Linked DNA regions of Homo sapiens: regions 1, 2, 3, 4 and 6 are each linked to region 5. Evidence: promoter capture Hi-C in 16 types of primary human blood cells and fetal thymus (Javierre and others, 2016). All regions are on one chromosome and are shown on one strand. Each heading gives the region's core, a stretch centred on a gene start or on the middle of the fragment in contact. The rest is flanking DNA. Distances are from core to core; before and after follow the strand shown. Region 1 overlaps NPBWR1 (neuropeptides B and W receptor 1). Region 2 has its middle 50 kb from the start of NPBWR1. Region 3 overlaps LOC100129098. Region 4 has its middle 76 kb from the start of NPBWR1. Region 5 holds the start of ATP6V1H (ATPase H+ transporting V1 subunit H). Region 6 has its middle 21 kb from the start of NPBWR1.

What was found. The method cuts DNA at HindIII sites, captures the fragments that hold promoters and counts their contacts. A CHiCAGO score of 5 or more calls a contact.
Region 1: a contact is called between a fragment that was not itself captured here and the fragment with the promoter of ATP6V1H in region 5, in 9 of 17 cell types (naive CD8 T cells, fetal thymus, naive CD4 T cells and 6 more). The highest score is 9.0, in naive CD8 T cells.
Region 2: a fragment that was not itself captured here is called in contact with the fragment with the promoter of ATP6V1H in region 5 in 2 of 17 cell types (naive B cells and total B cells); the score reaches 6.2 in naive B cells.
Region 3: a fragment that was not itself captured here is called in contact with the fragment with the promoter of ATP6V1H in region 5 in 1 of 17 cell types (megakaryocytes); the score reaches 5.4 in megakaryocytes.
Region 4: a contact is called between a fragment that was not itself captured here and the fragment with the promoter of ATP6V1H in region 5, in 1 of 17 cell types (fetal thymus). The highest score is 6.5, in fetal thymus.
Region 6: a contact is called between a fragment that was not itself captured here and the fragment with the promoter of ATP6V1H in region 5, in 12 of 17 cell types (M2 macrophages, naive CD8 T cells, fetal thymus and 9 more). The highest score is 8.7, in M2 macrophages.

Annotation. Positions count from the first base shown.
Region 1 is chr8:52,940,813-52,943,758 of GRCh38, reverse strand. NPBWR1 (neuropeptides B and W receptor 1) reads right to left here. Exons shown (of 2, transcript NM_005285.5): 2 at 25-2,946. The coding sequence ends at 2,865. Among named protein-coding and RNA genes, the nearest start is that of NPBWR1, 3.1 kb to the right of the region's middle. The HindIII fragment of the contact is 5,917 bases long and covers 1-2,946 here.
Region 2 is chr8:52,987,534-52,990,650 of GRCh38, reverse strand. No RefSeq gene overlaps it. Among named protein-coding and RNA genes, the nearest start is that of NPBWR1, 50 kb to the right of the region's middle. The HindIII fragment of the contact is 1,412 bases long and covers 697-2,108 here.
Region 3 is chr8:54,465,165-54,468,226 of GRCh38, reverse strand. LOC100129098 reads left to right here. Exons shown (of 2, transcript XM_041680557.1): 2 at 685-2,633. The coding sequence ends at 1,439. Among named protein-coding and RNA genes, the nearest start is that of SOX17, 8.8 kb to the right of the region's middle. The HindIII fragment of the contact is 2,492 bases long and covers 217-2,708 here.
Region 4 is chr8:53,013,427-53,016,272 of GRCh38, reverse strand. No RefSeq gene overlaps it. Among named protein-coding and RNA genes, the nearest start is that of NPBWR1, 76 kb to the right of the region's middle. The HindIII fragment of the contact is 2,934 bases long and covers 1-2,796 here.
Region 5 is chr8:53,841,758-53,844,658 of GRCh38, reverse strand. ATP6V1H (ATPase H+ transporting V1 subunit H) reads left to right here and starts at 1,414. Exons shown (of 14, transcript NM_015941.4): 1 at 1,414-1,625. RefSeq lists enhancers at 1-28, 1,326-1,465 and a silencer at 1,106-1,255. The HindIII fragment of the contact is 7,596 bases long and covers 1-2,901 here.
Region 6 is chr8:52,958,717-52,961,725 of GRCh38, reverse strand. No RefSeq gene overlaps it. Among named protein-coding and RNA genes, the nearest start is that of NPBWR1, 21 kb to the right of the region's middle. The HindIII fragment of the contact is 6,943 bases long and covers 1-3,009 here.

The DNA of each region.
Region 1 (2,946 bases), core at 122-2,621, 900 kb after region 5:
GTTCTCAGAAAATAGAATGTTCACTTATCACACAGAATGTTTCAGCTTTTATTTTAAACTGAGCTCCTCTACAATGGACTACAGAGTTTCTGCGTTTGTCAAGAGAAAACATAAGCATACACATTACATAACTGCACTAAATTAAGTAAAAGCAAATAGACATTTTTAACTATTCAAAGTGGTAAAACCAAACCATAGAGTTTACACAGAAACTGCAAGAATTCAACACAGTGTTAAAACCTTTGCAATACAATGATGTGAATAAATTCTACTTTTGCCTGGCTTATGTGTGTATTTATTCAACCGATTACCCAAGACATAAAAAGGAAGCCTGAGATATACAGTCTACATGCTCGTATGAAGGGCAACGACCTAGAAATAATGATACAACAGTTTATCCAGTGATCAGAAAGCCCAGGAGGAACTCAACTGCTGAGACCTGATTAATCCCACAGGCATACTCAGAAGCCAGTCCATGCCTTGCTGGGGATGAACAGCAATGTCAGCCCGTGTATTTTTCCAGCAGTCATCTCCATAGATTCCAAGAAGGCTCGAGGTCAATCTACTGTAGGGATGAAACAGTGGACAGATGGATCACTCAGCTGTCCCCCATCTGAGTCCAGTTACTGAGCTTATTAAGACAGATGAGATACTGAATCCAGACAATCACTCCAGCTGTGTTTGTAGCCAAATGTTCACCTTACTCTTTGTCCATCACCTTAGGTAATCTAGAAGTTACTCTAAGTTTAAAACTTTAATTTTGAAAAGTTACAGAGGATTCATGAGATAATTTTGAGAGTTTAAGGAAAATCAATAGAATGTTTCCTAGAAATTCGAAAGATATTAAAATGAATTCCAAGAAGCCTCCGAAGCCGGCCAGCAGAGAGAGGCCTGTTCAAATGCCATGAGGTCCACCACTCGAAACTCATTGTAGATGAAAACTTTCTTTTAAACAATTTACTATTATTTGCCACCCAAGACAGAAGGTTTTTTAATGTATATTTTCTAAACTGATGGCTATGAATTATTTCAATGTTCCTAAAAACTCTGAGAGCTAAGAAAGCAATTCTTATTCACCAAAATTAGAGAGGGGGTTTGCTTCCCCCCATTCCAAGGGGGAGTTTTTTCCTTCCAAATATTTATTAAAAGCTATTTTCAACCTAAATAATTGAGAAATTGATTGAAGATGCCAAACTAAGCAAACAAAATGTGCTGCAACACTCACATTTTTTTTTCTCACACATGACATAGGAAACAAACATTTGTAGAAATTTTCATCCTGTTTGGACTTCATCCTAAAGATTAATACCTTTTAAAACACCATAATCAATTACCAGACTTTGCTTAGGGTTCGGCCCTCATGTCTAAGGCTAAACTGCAGAGGATTGGGCAAACCCAATGCCAGTCCTCTCTCTTAATCCACTTTGTCTTCCATATGCAGAGACAAAAACACAGGTAGGATGCTGGCCAATCTCCCTGGTGACTCCAGGACCAGTATTTACCCGGTTTACCGGGACTACCTACCGGATGCCGTCTACAAGTAAGGAATAAAGCCCAGGTAATCCACAGCTCCCTGTGAAAAGTACAGCAGAGAAAACCTGAAGCCGTCGGTCATCCCTGCTTCCTGCTCTCCCTAAGGCGGAGCCAAGGAAGCAGAGGAGAAAGGGAACACAAGAGAATAGATCGCATTTCTTTTTATCTTATTTGATCTTCATGGCAACTCGTGAGATTAGGACATGTACATTATTTATAAAGTTTTCAGTCCTGAAAAACAGTACACACATGAACAGTTACAACAAACTGATCTAAGTAAGACAAGAGACGAGGCCAATTGGGGGAATGGGGGTGGGGCTTGGCATCCTCTATAAGCAACGATGACCAGTGTGCCACAGCGCTGTGAAGCGCGCTCAGCCGGAGTGCTCCACCACAAAGCCCCGCGATCCTCCGACGCTAAGCACTCGGCCGCTGGCTCCTCCAGGGGGCGCCGGAACCGCGCGCCCGGGCTACTCCGGGTTCCTTGCTCCGGGAGTCTGACATTTTCAGGGGAGATCACGGATAGGAAAGGGAAAAGGCAAAGAAAAGGAGTAGGGGCAGACAGAAAGAAGGATCACTATTCGTATCATATTCTAGGCAGTCACTGCCAAGCGCCAGCCTCTTTCCCCGCATTTCATGCCTCCGCAAACGCGCGCACACCACACACACACACACACAGGTGTATACACACTCCGATGGGGCATCCCGAGTTGTTGTGTTTTCCCCAGTTGAAGAGGCGCTGGCGGCCTCGGCAGCGGTCCCCGCCCGCGGCGCCAGGCCAAGCGGGTCTCACAGGGGTGGGCGCCAAACGCGCGCGCCTGACCGTCTTCCCAGAGCGCGCGGAGGACAAGGGGACCCGCCGGGGCTGTGCGCCAGCTACAGCAGGGGCCGCGCGGAGCCGACGCCTGGGGGCGCCGGCAGCGTCCTCGGGCCTCCCTTCGAAGGCGCGGAGAGTTCCGACTCCAGCCAGGTTCCAGACTGCCAGGGCTCGGGTGGGGCAGCAGGGAGCAGGGCAGGGAGGGGGCGGTTCCCAGCAATACCGCCCTCCTCCTCTACCCTCCTCTTCCTCCACCTCGGCTTTAGGGAGCCCTCAGTGTGGCGATCTCAGCCTCAGTTCTCCTCACCCGGCATGGCCGCGCATCACCTGGAGGGCTTGGCAAGGTCAACCTGCGGGCACAGTCGCAGCGCTTCCGATCTGCTAGGTCGGGTATGGGGCGCGAGTCGGTTTCCCCAGGAGGCCTAGGCGGCCTGTCTGGTCCCGCACTCTGGCGCCGGCTCCTCCCTCGCTGGCCAGGAGTGGCGGGCAGTTGCGGAGCCGGACGCTGGGGGAGTCAGGCTGCCGCGCGGCAAGTTATCAGCTGGCGGAGGTTCCTGCGGAAGCTGGCGTCCAGGAAGGCGTAGAGGAAGGGGTTG
Region 2 (3,117 bases), core at 153-2,652, 850 kb after region 5:
ATAAATATCTGTTAAATAATTCAATAAGACAGTCTCAACATTCTAAAAACTTAAGAATATCACAATGGGTATTGCAGTTTAGAATGTACAAAGCACTCTCCCAGAACTTCTCTCATAAGGTGGATATCACTTCCATTTTACCAATGAAGAAACTGATTTCAGCAACTTAAGAGATGTGCCCTAATCTCATGGCTGGGAAGTGGCAGAATCTGGGTGTCCAATGCCCATGCCCAAAGCTTTTTCTACCAGCCTTGACATGTTTTTCCAAAGATCATGCTTGCTTCCCTGTTCGTATCTGCTTTGTTTCCATAGAGCTTCTCACCGACACTGTTGACAACAATGGCCTCTTGACAGGTCCTCTGCTTCCAGTCTGTCTCTTCTCCAGTCCATCCTTTACACTGACTCCAGAATTAGTTCCTTAATCACAAAATGTAGTTATGCCACTCCCCTGTTTGAAAGTCTTTACTGAAATTCTCACTTCTGCTCTTCTTGGCATTCAAAGCCTGCTAAAGTCCAGACACAGATGCCTTTCCAGCCTATTTCAACCTACGCTCCCAGATGGCCCGCCAGCCGGACCTGTCTGTCACAACTCCATGACGAAGCCTTGAACTTCTGTGCCTCCTTGCATTTCTTTAGTCCTTTTGTCTGAAGTCACTGTTCCTCATCTCCCACCCACCAGGGCCCTTCTTGGAAGCTTTCTGTAAGTCCTTCCTCAGAATTAGCATTTGGCCCTGTTTGGGCATATCTCTTCTTATTCTTGGTAGGGCGGCTCATTGTGTTTATCCTCCAATAGATGTCTATGTCCTGAGCACAGAGATCATCTCTCAATCCTCTCTCTCACCTGCCACCCCACATTGCACCTAAAGTGTACTCCATAAGTATTCTTTTAATTAACATGAATATTTCATAATAGGAAAAGCAGATTCACATGTTTTCTCATTACAGGCATGAAGAGCCTGGGCAAACCAGGGAAATCAAGTTTAAGGCCCATAATCGACCTGGAATTCTCCTCTAAGCACATGGTCTATGCTTTTTCCCTTTTATTTAAAATGATGACAGGCCGGGCATGGTGGCTCACGCCTGTAACCCCAGCACTTTGGGAGGCTGATGCAGGTGGATCACTTGAGGTCAGGAGTTCAAGACCAGCCTGGCCAACATGGTGAAACTCTGTCTCTACTAAAAATACAAAATTAGCCAGGCGTGGTGGTGGGTGCCTATAATCCCAGCTACTTGAGAGGCTGAGGCAGAAGAATCACTTGAATCCGGGAAATGGAGGTTGCAGTGATCGGAGATTGTACCATTGCACTCTAGCCTGGGTAACAGAGTGAGACTCTGTTTCAAAAAAAAAAAAAAAAAAAAGAGTACAATGTATACCCTCCTCCAGTCTGCCTTGTTGTTGGCCTGTGAAGATGGTAGGTTATTGGGTAATGCAAGATTCTCAGTGGAAAGAATGGATTGCAACTGAGAGAGGGCCATTTCCTTCCTAAGGCTTTTCAGTCCCTGCTCTCCTTTCTCCCTAAGATAACAAAGGGCAGCGCCTGGCCCAGTGCCTGCATGAGAGGAAGGACTCCATTACAGCAACCCCCTGGGCCTTTCTACTCACTCTGGCTGCTTCTTACGTTTCTTTCTTTAGAAATATTTTTCTCCTTATTCTGGAAGGTAAAACTCAACATAATTAGCCAGATGTATATTAAAGAAAAAATGTTGACCTTATTTTCCACATTTAATAAAAGCTAAGGTCTTACGTGTTCATTATGAACAATAATAGCCTTGTGTCTATACAAGAAAAAAAGCTGAAACCATAACGTACCTACACTTTGATGTTTTAATCATGCATTTCTGTGCCAACCAATTCCAAGTTTTGGCAGACTGTGAGATATTTTTCTTTCACTTAATTTTTTCATAACAAGCCATAGGAGACGAACTACTCACAAAGTGGAAGATTCAAATGTATACCCAGTGCTGTCAGCCAAGTATATGTGAGACTGCTTACCTGATTAAGGGCTGGCTTTCTAGGTCCAGAGGTGAAACTAATACACAAGTTATTTTTGCTCTGAATGAGTGAGCCTTTGACAAATTCATGAAGCATGATTAAATGTTAATAAGCTTAATACCACCTCTTGGCTGGGCGCCGTGGCTCATGCCTGTAATCCCAGCACTTTAGGAGGCCAAGGCTGACAGATCACCTGAGGTCAGGAGTTCAAGACCAGCCTGACCAACATGGAGCCCGTCTCTAATAAAAATACAAAATTAGCCAGGCGTGGGGCGCATGCCTGTAATCCCAGCTACTCAGGAGGCTGGGGCAGGAGAACTGCTTGAACCTGGGAGGCGGAGGTTGTAGTGAGCCGAGATCACGCCATTGCACTCCAGCCTGGGCAACCATAGCAAAACTCTGACTCAAATAATAATAATAAGAAGAAGAAGAAACCTCTTGTCCTATTCCTGGAGGGTTACAGTAAAGGGTTCCTTACCATTTCCCCATTCCAGATACATGGACACAGGTGGCAGGGAAAGGAAGTGGAGGTCCTGAAAGATTGTGGGTCTCCAAAGAAGCCCAGCCTCCATCACTGGCCCAGAGGAAGGGCACTCCAGTGACCGACTGCAACAGAAGGGGCCTGCTACACTACTCTGCCTTAGGTGCGGCCACTGAGCCCTGTCCTCTCCATCTCTGAGGCCAAGCACATGACCCTCTCCAGGGTTAGGGTTGAGCTGCCTAGACATAAACACCTCACCAACTGTTTATGAATACACAACTAAAACCCAATCACACTTATTTTCCAACATTTCAAATCCAGGTGCTTAAATTCAAACTACGTGTTATAATAAAGTTGCACCAGCTGGCTTTATATTTAAGGCTTTGGCCTGGGATAATTTAAGGAACATTTTGATGATGAAAGAATAAGCCTTGTTAGCAGAGAGAACTCATTCTGAAAGTCCATGTGCTTCAGGAGGGACTGTCCTGGGCTCCTAACAACACGGAGGGCTCTGAGCAGTCAGACATGATGGGGTGAGGCTCCACGGAGCCTGCGGCCTTCGCTCCACTGCCTGCCTACAGCGGAGATGAAGGGCTGGAAGAGGAAGGTGAAAAGGGGGAAAGGAGGGATGATGAAAGGAGGA
Region 3 (3,062 bases), core at 213-2,712, 620 kb before region 5:
TTGCAGTGAGCTGCGATGCACCACTGCACTCCAGCTTGGGCGACAGAAGGATACCCTGTCAAAAAATAAACAAACAGAAAAGCCGCTCCCTATTAACTTCAAAAGACTCTGGAAAATTAACTCGATGTGTGCACAGGTAGAGGCCATCCTCTCCCAAACTTCAGCAACAAACTAGAGCTCTAGATTGCAACCTGGCTAGCTTGAAATTCTAAAGCTTTAGGCGTTTTCCTGAAAGGCTGTTAAATGTATTTCTAGCTCCATGTGTGGCGAGCAGTTAGAATCTGTAATAACTCAGCACCCATCTCTCAATTCCTTACTCAATAAATGAACAAGGAATACAACTTTTTTTTCTTTTAACTTGGAATAGGGGCATACTTTTTAACTTGGAATAGAGCTGTTTCGTTTTTGCAGAACCTGGCCTAATTAGGCGGCACATTAAAACCTTTCTCCCAAGACTGCAAAATTTTGTGTTATCGTTTATACCTGGAGATAATTAACAATTTGGTTTTGAACTTTTTATTTAATGTCATCTCCAGCTCCCAAGACGAGTCTGCAATTGCCGGTCAAGTCTCCCTAAAGGGAAACACTAAATATGAGAATCGCTAAACACGAAAGAGTTTTCGGAGGTAGAGCCACCGACCGGTTCTTGAGGATGTTCGCCAAGCCCGGCGTCTCCCCGCGCAGAAGCCCAGCCCTCCCACGTCCGGGGTTCCCGGCGCCCGGGTTCCCCGCGCTCCGCCTCCCCCGGCGTCGGGCGCAGCTGGGCGTCAAGCTGGGCGGGGGTCCCTCGCCAGCCTCTGGCGCTCGACCTTCGCCCCACCTGGAAGGCGCCGGATGCGAGACTCGCCCTTGGCTCGGCCCGCGGCCCCGGCCGGCGCCTCGCCCTTCACCTTCAAGTCCCCGAGGGAGCTCGGCAACTCGGCCCAAGGACAGGGGCCCAGCCTAGCCGTCACCGCCGGCAGCGCGCTCCGGGTCTGGCTCTGGTAGTCACTGGCGTATCCCGCATCCGGCCTGCTCACGGCGCTCCAGGCCTGCCCCGCGCGCCGAAACCCTCCGCCGGACGCGGAGGAAAAGAAGGTGGTGAGCGAGGCACGGAGATGCTCCGACGGCTGCGCGGGTCTCCGAGGCCGAACCGCCACCCGCGTTCCGGGCCAGTCCCAGCCCACGGCGTGGCCAGCGCTGCCGCCGGTCCAGCGACACTGCGGGCGCCCCCGGGCCGCGGGGCCTCTTCTGAGACCATGTGGCCCACAGAGAATCTAAGCTCCCGCCGCCGGGCTCCACCTCAACGGCGGAGAACTCGGGCGCCGAGCATCGCCCGATCCCTACCCGGCAGCGGACGGCTACAGGGTTTGATTTTCCCCTCCACAGGAAAGAACGTGCAGAGGCACAAATCCCCTCCTCTTCCCTCAGAGGAAAGCCTGTCCCAGCGGTCCCGCTGAGAACTTCCGAAGCCTTGGCGCGGCAGGCAGGCCCCTGAGCCGGTGCACCGCGAAGTTGCATTCTCACCTTCGAGTCACCGTGGCTTAGGCCGAGTAAACGAGCACTTCATCTAGCGCCGGGCGGGCCCCGGCACCAAGCTAAGAGCTCAAAACTCCTCGAAGCGGGCGCGCGACGTCGCGGTCCGAGCTCTCCTCGCCGCACTCCCCCATCAGACCTAAGATCTTTTACCTTTTAAATTAAAGTGAATCCAGATCCTTGTTAATGCGGCCTAATGTAGCAGCGGGAAGAGTGTAGGTCCCTGGCGAGGGGAGCGCGCTCCGGTGACCTCTAGCGCCTCAGACGCCCGCGCAGGAGGAACTCCCGCAGCCCGCCCGGGACCCGAGGGCAGGAGGGTGCGGGGAACGGGGCTGCCACTGCGCCTAAGCCTTTCCCCTTTTATAGGCTTTAGGGAAACAAATCCTCTTTTCCTAGTGGATGTAAGAAGTGAGTGAATTTAAAGTCACAGCCACGGCGGTAAGCGGCCCCAATTGTCTGGGATTCATAATGCTGTTAATATACACACGTATATGTAACAGCACTTTGCAGGTATACATACATATATATTATATGTATTTTTTTTCATATGACGTTTGCATCAATATTCTGCGTGCTGTCCCTCCCCCACCCCAACCCCAATCTGTTTTTAAAAATCCACCTCCGCAGAAGAGGAGAGGAGTGCTTCAGGGAAGGGTGGAGGCATCCATGTCCTCACCTTTCCCAGTGAGGAATCGAGACTTCCCGCCTTCGCGATGGAACTAGAAAAGGGTATGTAGTCCTGGACTTTAAAAGACAATTAACAGAAGTGGAAATAAGGATGTAACTATATTCCGAGGAAGAGCGGGCAGGAAATTCTTAGCTGTCGTAGCAGAAAGTAAATGTCTAAAACTCATAAGCCTAAAATTAGCCATGCAGGTACATTAATTAATTAACCACTAGACAAGCAGAATTATTAATGTAGGTAATGCCCAGTAGGGGGAAGAAAAAAGGAATTGATTCTGACCTGTGGCACTGGGGCTGGGGAGAGATGGAAACTTCTGACAACTCTGTTTATATTACAAGCCCGTCTGCAATGTTGTTTGAGTTGTTGTAAGCGTGTGCATCATTTACATTTTTAAAATTATTTTTAAATGAATAAAACAATAATGTTTTCTATATCCACAGTCTCGTTATTGAAACTACAAACCTAAATTTTTATTTTCTATTTTTCCTTCCTGTTATCTCAGTAAGCTTTTTCAGGTCAATATTCTTGGTGCGCATGTGTGCACCTCTGATCCTTACTATTGTATTCAAACGTCCAAACAAATATTTATTTTAAAAAGCAGAAAAATCCACTATATAGGGGGCAGCTATAAAATTGCTCCTTCCATTTTGCTGGTGTCTACTAATTTTCTTCTATCAGTCCGTCCATATCCATCAGTTCACAGAAATAACTTCTGAGGACTGAGGGATTTAAAAGCCTGCGGATCGCGTTTCAGTATTACCTGGAACTACTGGAAGCCAGAATCTTTTCTTAATTTGCCTTTTTCCCCATTACACTCTGCTTATTCCTCCTCAAGAATTCAGACCCTGTTCAGTTCTCAAAA
Region 4 (2,846 bases), core at 80-2,579, 830 kb after region 5:
TATTCCAACACTGCACTGAGAAAGAAGGCCTAAAACTTCAACAAAGTATTTAAATAACTTAATGAGATAGAAGATACATTCCTATTTTTACTATCCTCTACTGAGACTATTTGGTAAAAGTCAGATTTGTTTAAAAGAAATCATAAGGGAAAACTGAAAATTCTAATGCAATGTAAGTATATATAAATATTATATTTATAAAGCATACATGATCATTCAAGGTAAATGAGCTATCACATCTAAAGCAGCTGGATGATAGATGAATATATGAAAAATTTTCTTTCTTTAAAGTTGTTATGCAGTTGCATAAATGCAAAATGCAATTGTTCTTAAGGAAAGAACATTTTAGTGTTTAAAAATTCACCTCAGACATCTTTTCTAACAGATTTTCTCTTCTAACAGGCTAATAGAATGAATTTTTTTCTATAATAATTTAGACCTTTTGTCCTAATGGTGCCTAAAAAAAGTTCCCATATTTGCAGAATTTTTTTCTAAGAACTTCACTTATCAAAATCACTTGATGAAATCATTCTCCAAATATGTATTGAATATCTGTGGAAGAATTACATTTTTGCACTAACAATTCACAGCCATTTTTCCAGAATTTCTGAACATGAACTAAAATTCAGAAATAAAAATACTCTACTTGAGAATACGTAACGTTGATGCAAATTATAATCTTAATGCAATATGTCTAAATAACAACGAAGAGAGATTCTCTAAGAAAAAATGATGCTTCTGCAGGAATAGGCATTACAATGGGAAGACACATATAGTAACCTATGTGTGCATTCAGGGAGGTAAAAGGAAGGCAAAGTGTCTTAAAGGAGAGATGAGGAGGATTACATAATTGTTTTTGAGATAATTATCCTTGGCTATGGGGATCAATAACAAGAGCAGCACCAGTCTGAGGTTGGACAGGCAGTTGCTGGGCAGAAGTCCTTGAAGAAGTATTTTTGCATGTATGTGTAAGGTTCCAATAGTCTTTGTACTAGCTTGCGGTTTTTGCAGTCTTTTGTGACAGTTACCTTGCTATCAGACCCTTTCTTTCATGGCCTTCCCTGGCTCTATTTGTCAGGCTTTTTTTTTTTTTTTTTTAAAAACACAAGTGGCTTGGTTTTGATTCTGACAACTTTCACAAATACATAGGAATTCCTATGTAAGCTATTTTGCCCATTACTGTTGGTCGCTTTCAGATTAGGTAGAGAAGTGGTAAGGTACGTCACTTAGCACTGGAACTGTAAAAACCAGGTTGCCCTCCATGTTGCCTCCCCCTCTCCTCTTCTTTTCTCCCCCCTGAGTTTTATTGCAAAACTTAAGAAAAAGTGGGATCAACATTTCCAGTGGCATGCTGGAGAAATATACTGATGAATGCTTGAGCAGGGCAGAGATGTGTGCATCTGACAGCAGACCTATGTGTCAGGCTGAATTTCAAAAAAAAAAACCTATTCTGAGGAAGAGGTTTGTGTGCAGGAGGTGGCTGGGAAGTGAAGAAAGCAGGAGTAGGCAGAGAGAGAAGCTGCATTGTGGTGCAGCTGCAACAGAGACCTCAGCCTCCTCTAGGCCATGGGAAGAGGCAAAGCTCTTAACCAGGACCAGAGAACAGGGCTGTCGCTGAATAGCTGCATGACCTTAGCACATCACTGAAAACCTCTGCAACATTTTCTGACAGTTTAGGGTTATACCATGCTGAGTCTCATTTCTTCTTCTATAACACAGAGAAACTGGAAAAGTTTAGTAGCTCCAAAACTGGTTAAAACTTTAGAATCACCCAAGAATTCTTATTAAAGAAACAGATTCCCTGAGTGGCATGTACAGATTCTGACTAGATAGATCTGAGTGGGATGGTTGGGAGAGGGATCAGGGCTGGGAAGGCTAATCTTATGAACGCCCTGAGTGCGTCTGATGGAGTCCTCCAAGCTAGCATCCTAACAGTCTCTAAATCCTGGTAGTTTACTATTCAAACCGTCAGAGGCACATTCAAAAACAGAAACAACATCTATGTAATCAAATATCACTGTGTGGGGCATCTTTGCTGTTTCCACTTCCACTTGTTCTACATATCAGTATAATCTGGGTGAGAAACAGAAAATCTACCTTCTTCATGTACACACATGCATCAGATTCCCACAAACATGGATGAAGTCTTGCAGAAAAGTCATTTAAAAGTAATAAAATGAGCATTTATGTCTGTGAAAGTTAGATAAAAATTCTGAGATCTGAATATTTTCACACCCTCTGAAAGACAACCAATAATTTCACAGTCCAATTTGGGAACATGAGCAATTTTTGTAATACCTTGTCTGTTTCCTGTTACAATGGAAAGACGTCAGAATTGCAGCATTTTATTTCTGAACCTGCAAAGTAATTCAAACAAGAAGAGTAGCAGCTTTCTCCCATCTCTGTCATTGTGATTTCACAATTACCTACCAGTCTTAGGAGATAATTTGTCAAGAAAATGAAAGAATCTTTAGCCTTAAAAATATCCCTCTAACAAATTTTTCATTTATGTAAGGGAATAGATAAGACCATTTCCCATTCAAAACAACCTCCATTATGAGCTAAACCAATTATCCCCCAAGAAAGGAAATAATTCTCAAAGTAGTTACATATTTATATTGAGCTACCCTATAAAGGCAGGCAACAAAACATTACAAAGAAACTACCAACAACTTAACACCTACCCTTTGGAGAATGCTCTGTGAGTTTATAATCAGGTACTATCTCACTTCAACAGAGGCACGAAATTGTCTTAATGGGCCAGTAGATCTACCTGTCAAAACAACTCATTAAGCTTGTTTCTTTTCAGTCAGGTTTCCTCCTTATTAGGGAAGAGGTTTCTAGCT
Region 5 (2,901 bases), core at 165-2,664:
TAGGAAAAGAGGAGAGCCTCCCGAAATCTGATGAGACTCGCTGTATCACGCCAGTCTGTGGCTTAGGTGATACAGAAAGGAAATGCGAAGATCAGGCCTCACTGCCAGCTTTGCTCAGTTACACAGAAAACATGCTGTTTCAGCTTTTGGGAGTTTCTTAGTACACGATCGGTTTCTTTTTCTCTTTTATGAAAGTTTTTCCCCTTAGATTTGCTTTCAAAACAACAGACTTTCACTTCTGGCTAAGACAGAATGAGTGACCTAGTACAATCTTTGACACTGTTATTATATATCTTTATTCATAATCAATGCATGATTTTGATTATTCTGACTTTAATTTTACGAGTAAAAATGGGTTGGTTATAAATCCCTTTCAAAGAATTTTTTTTTTTTCTTTTTGAGACGGAGTTTTGCTTTTTCTGCCCAGGCTGGAGTACAATGGTGCGGTCTTGGCTCACTGCAACCTCTGCCTCCTGGGTTCAAGTGATTTTCCTACCTCAGCCTCCCAAGCAGCTGGGATTACAGGCATGCGCCACCACACCCAGCTAATTTTTTGTATTTTTAGTAGAGATGGGGTTTCACCATGTTGGTCAGCTGGTCTCGAACTCCAGACCTCAGGTGATCCACTGGCCTCGGCCTCCCAAAGTGCTGGGATTACAGGAGTGAGCCACCGCGCCCGGCCCCTTTCATTGCTTTTTAAGGAAAACATGCTATCATATATACTTCACCTCCAGGGCAGTACATTCTTACTTTAAGGCAAAGACAGTTGCTGAGGCCTGGACTAGGGGAAAATTTGGGCTCCAGATGGGACTGTTGGATAAAATACCAGACGTCCTGTAAATGTGAATTTTAGATAAACAACGAATAACTTTTTAGTATAAAAGTAAATACTGCAATGGAATTTATTATTTGCTAAATGTGCAACCCTAGGTTAAGAGAGCTTTTCAGACCCACTTCTCAGCCCGAGTTTTCTATTTAAAATCAGAATAAGAACGCCTGCTTCATGGAGCTGTTAAATCCAAATGGAAATTAATTTGAAAGCGCGAAATCAAACTTTTCAAAAGAATGACGGTTACAATAAGAGCGTTTTGGCCTCTGCTAGCTGCTTCCGGGCGGAGGTCCTCGGCCTCCCCTAGGCGAGGCACTAGGTCTGGGGGCGGCGGGTCTTAGCGTGCCCGCCACGCTCGCCGCCTCCCACCTGCCCTGGCTGGCTGGGGCCCGACCCTTGCGTCGCTCCGGGGCCCAAGTTACGGACTCGGGAATCCAGTTGTCCGCACCGAACAAGCCCCGCCGCAGCGCCCGCCCCTCCTCTTGCTGCTTTGGAGTCTCCCGGCTTCCGCCTTCCGCAGCAGTCACGTGCCTCCGATCACGTGACCGGCGCCTCTGTCATTCTACTGCGGCCGCCCTGGCTTCCTTCTACCTGTGCGGCCCTCAACGTCTCCTTGGTGCGGGACCCGCTTCACTTTCGGCTCCCGGAGTCTCCCTCCACTGCTCAGACCTCTGGACCTGACAGGAGACGCCTACTTGGCTCTGACGCGGCGCCCCAGCCCGGCTGTGTCCCCGGCGCCCCGGACCACCCTCCCTGCCGGCTTTGGGTGCGTTGTGGGGTCCCGAGGATTCGCGAGGTAAGGCCGCCCTCGCGTTGTTTGGTCTCAGGCTGCAGACCAGGTCAGGCGACTCTTGCAGTTTCTCCAGCTTGCCTGGTGCGTGCTGGTGTCTCGCCGCTTGGTCCTCTCCTGTTCTTCGGCCCCCGGTTGCCAGATTGCTTTTCTTCCAGGCCTCAACCAGGTTTATTAAGCGAAATTCTGGAGCCTTTCTCGCAGGGGGAAGAAACGTCAGGGGCGGGCAGGAGAGTGGAGGGGGAGGGGTAAAAAGTATACCTTCTCCAGGACTGGGCCACGGCCCTGGATCGCTGGGGGTGCGAGTAGTTCAGGGACTTAGGTAATTGTCTAGAGACACCTTGAGCTACGCCAGGACGGGCCGCTGAGGCTGAGCCTCCTTGGCTGCAGAGTTCCAGCCTGGCCCAGTTGAAGCCTGTTTTTTCCTGGGCCCTGTCGTTCGCGCTGCCCAGGGTTGTTTATACAGCAAATCTTCAGATACAGAGATTAAGTTCCAAATTGATTAAGATCGTTGGAAACCCGGAATATAATTTTGGGTAGGATTTTAACTTCTTTGTGGCCATGGCCGTGAATTTATGTTTTGCAAGTGGCAACCTGTATTTTGCTTTGTGTTAAAATCAGTCGTTTGTATCTGGAAGTTTAGGAGTGAGAATTACATAGAATTTCATTATTGTAGGTTCTTGTCGTCCAGCCAGACCGCCATTGTTGGCTTACCTAAATTGTAATATGTATTTGTTCTAAAACTTTCTCTCCGAATTTTGATTTTGCAAATACTATGAATTTTGTTTGAAAAGGAAAGCACTGTCTTCTAAGAAATTATGTTCCCACTTTGTGTATTTTAATTTGAGTAATTTTCGAAAGGACTTAGAATTTTTAATGTGCCACTTCAAAATGATGCTTAGTAAATGTTTATAAAACTAGCCTTATCCGTACTATTCATATTCTTATTGTTTCTCTATGAGAAAAGTTAACCACAATTGTATAAATTTACAATTTTTCCCATATTTATACCTATTCTATTTAATCATGATTTCTGATTTCAGTATATTAGGTGATTGCTTTAAAAATCTTACTGCAGTGTTAGTGCCAATAATGAAAAAAATTTTTCTAGAAAAGCAAAAGCCTAAAGAACTCTTTTATGGAGCAGTGGACAATATTTGAAATATAATGATACTTTCAGACTTAGGACATTTAATATTTGAGTTGAATGCCTGGGGAGATTAAAGTGATCACGATATTCATAATCATAATATTAATAGTTGTAAAAAAAAGAAACACCTCG
Region 6 (3,009 bases), core at 348-2,847, 880 kb after region 5:
GATGGGACTGCGTGCCATGGAGCAGGGTGCAGTGATCGTCAGGGAGGCTCGGCCCTGCAGGAGCCCACAGCAGGGGGGAGGCTTGTGGATGATGGGCTGCAGGTCCCGAGCCCTGCCCTGCGGGGAGGCAGCTGAGCCGGCAGGCCCACACTGCTGGGGGACCTGGTGGACCCTCTGCAGCTGCTGGCCTGAGTGCTAAGCCTCTCACTGCCTGGGGCCAGTGGCACCGGCCGGCCGCTCTGAGTGCGGGGCCTGCCGAGCCCATGCCCACCCAGAACTCGCACTGGCCAAAAAGCGCTGTGCACAGCCCCAGTATCACCCACAACTCTCACTCCACACATCCCCGCAAGCAGAGGGAGACGGCTCCAGCCTCTGCCAGTCCAGAGAGTAGATCCCACAGTGCAGCGGTGGGCTGAAGGGCTCCTCAAGTGTGGCCAGAGTGGGCACCAAGGCCAAGGAGGCACCAAGAGTGAGCGAGGGCTGCCAGCATGCTGTCACCTCTCAATCCACCCTCTAAACAGGACACCCCAACTACTGTTGGGAATTTGGCCGATGACCACTCTAGCTAATTCCTGTTGGATGGGGTGATGAAGGGGCCCTGTAGTTGTAGTGTTCTCCAGAGGGGAACTCTCTAGGGCAGTGAAAGTGCCCACGAGTCAGTCCAGGGTCCTCGGTAGAAGTCGTTAGTTGAACTCATTTGGGGTTCCATTTGTAAGACCATCTGTAAGTTGATGACCTCAATTCTAGAGGAAACAAATTTGACAAGAAGGTTAAAAATACAGGGTCCAAAGGTGAGTAACAGCAAGATGGCTGCCACGGGACCTAGAAAGGGGAGAAGCCACGTTGCCCAGCTCCAGAGGTTGGTATAAGAATTTGAAAGGCGTTGCCTGATTTCAGAAGCCTTTTCCTGTAAATGCCGGGTGGCATCTTGTACTATCTCCGACTGGTTAGTGTAAAAACAACACTCTTCCCCTAAGAAGGTGCAGAGTCCTCCTTTCTCAGCAGTGAGGAGGTCTAGGCCTCAGCAGTTTTGGAGAGTCACTGCTGCCGAAGAGTCTATTTGGGATTGTAAAGTAAGGATAGTTTTTTTATTTCTTGCAAACTGTCTGAGAAATCCTTTCAGAGTGTGTAGGATAATGAAGTAGATAAACCAGCTATTCTGTTTCCTGTAGCAGTAGCCATTCCTAACCCTATAAGTAAGGGTATTAGTAGTATGGCTCTTCGCTGACAGACTTGAGCTTTGAGGGGTACTGATAGGGTTTGATTTCCTGGGGCAATGTTAATGTTGTGACTTAGAAAGACTAAGGTGCAGGTGTCGGTCCAGTTAGTGGGGAGGCAGATATAAGTCAGTGTTCCACATAAGAACAATATGCCTTGTCTGGGTAGACAGAAATTTACCCTGACTTTTAAAGGAATAGGGTACACTGTTTTTTTCTTTACTACTTCCATTTCTCTTTCTTTCTCTTTGACTTCTTCTTTGTCTCTTTCTCTCTTTTTGACTCTCTCCTTGACTTTCTCTTTGACTTTCTCTTTGACTTTCTGTGTCTGTCTCTCTCTCTCTCTCCTTTTCTTTCTCTCTGTTTCTTCCTCTCTCTCTCTTTGACTTTCTGTCTCTTTCCTTTCTGCTGCCTCCACCAGCTGCTCATGCTGCTGTTCTCCCCTCTCCTTCCCCTCTTTGATGGCTTTGGCAGTGTAAGACTGCCACCTCCTTGGATTTTTGCATTACGTGCAATAACTCCGTAGTTTCCTTTTGATGCTCAATGGGGGTTCCCCCAGAAGTCAGGAACTCCCTTTCTTTCTATATTCAGCATGGACATGTAGGATTAGATAAGCATACTTGCTGTCTGTATACACACTTATTCTTTTTCCCTTTCCCAGTTCTGAGGCTCCGGAAAGTGTCACTAGTTCCGCTAACTGGGCACTGGTCCCTGGGGGAAGAGGCTTACATTCAAGTATGGTTACATCACTAACTATGGCATAACCTGTCCTTCGTATCCCATTCTCTACAAATGAACTTCCATCAGTATATAGGTTAAGGTCAGGATTAGCTAAGGGGACTTTTAAGAGATCATCTCAGGTGGCATAAGTCTGGAGTATAATTTGTTGGCACTCATGCTCAATTGGTTCCCCATCCTCTGGGAGAAAAGTGGCAGGGTTGAGGGCCACGCATGTGTGTATTTGAAGCACCAGTCCCTCAAGGAGTAGCGCCTGGTATCTAAGTAGGTGGTTGTCTGATAGCCATAAACTCCATAAACTTCCTTTGGCAACTAGTATGCCATTTACATCATGAGTAGTACAGACAGTGAGATCCTTTCCTTGTATCATTTTGATAGCCTCTGACACTAAGATGGCCACTGCTGCAACTACCCATAAACAGTGAGGCCAGCCTTTTGCTACTACATCAATTTCCTTACTTAGTTGTGCCACTGGTTGTGGAGTTGTCCCACGAGTCTGAGTAAGGACTCCAAGAGCTATCCCTGCTCTCTCTGTGACATATAAAGAAAAGTTTTGTCCTGTAAGAAGGCTTAAAGCTGGATCTTGTACTAGGGCCTGCTTTAAGGTTTTGAAGGCTGTTTCTGCCTCTGGTTCCCATTCTACTAGATGAGTATTTGCCCTCTGGGTTTCCTTGATTACAGTATAGAGGGGTGTGGCTATCTCGCTGTATCCGAGGATCCATAGTAGGGAAAAGCCGGTACTTCCAAGGAACCCCCACAACTGTTTTAATGTCTTAGGGTGAAGATAAGCCAGTATAGGCTGTATTCATTCCTTGCTGATGGCCCTGGTCCTGCTGGCTAAGATTAAGCCTAGATATTTGGCCTGCTGTAGGCAAAGCTGGGCCTTTGACCTAGACACCTTATACCCTTGATTAGCTAGAAAGTTCAAGAGATCTAGAGTAGCCTGCTGGCAGGAGGCTTCCGAACTGGTAGCCAAAAGTAAATCATCCACATACTGAAGGACCAGACTGCCTGGACTTGAGAAGTGGCCTAGATCTTGGGCCAGTGCCTGATC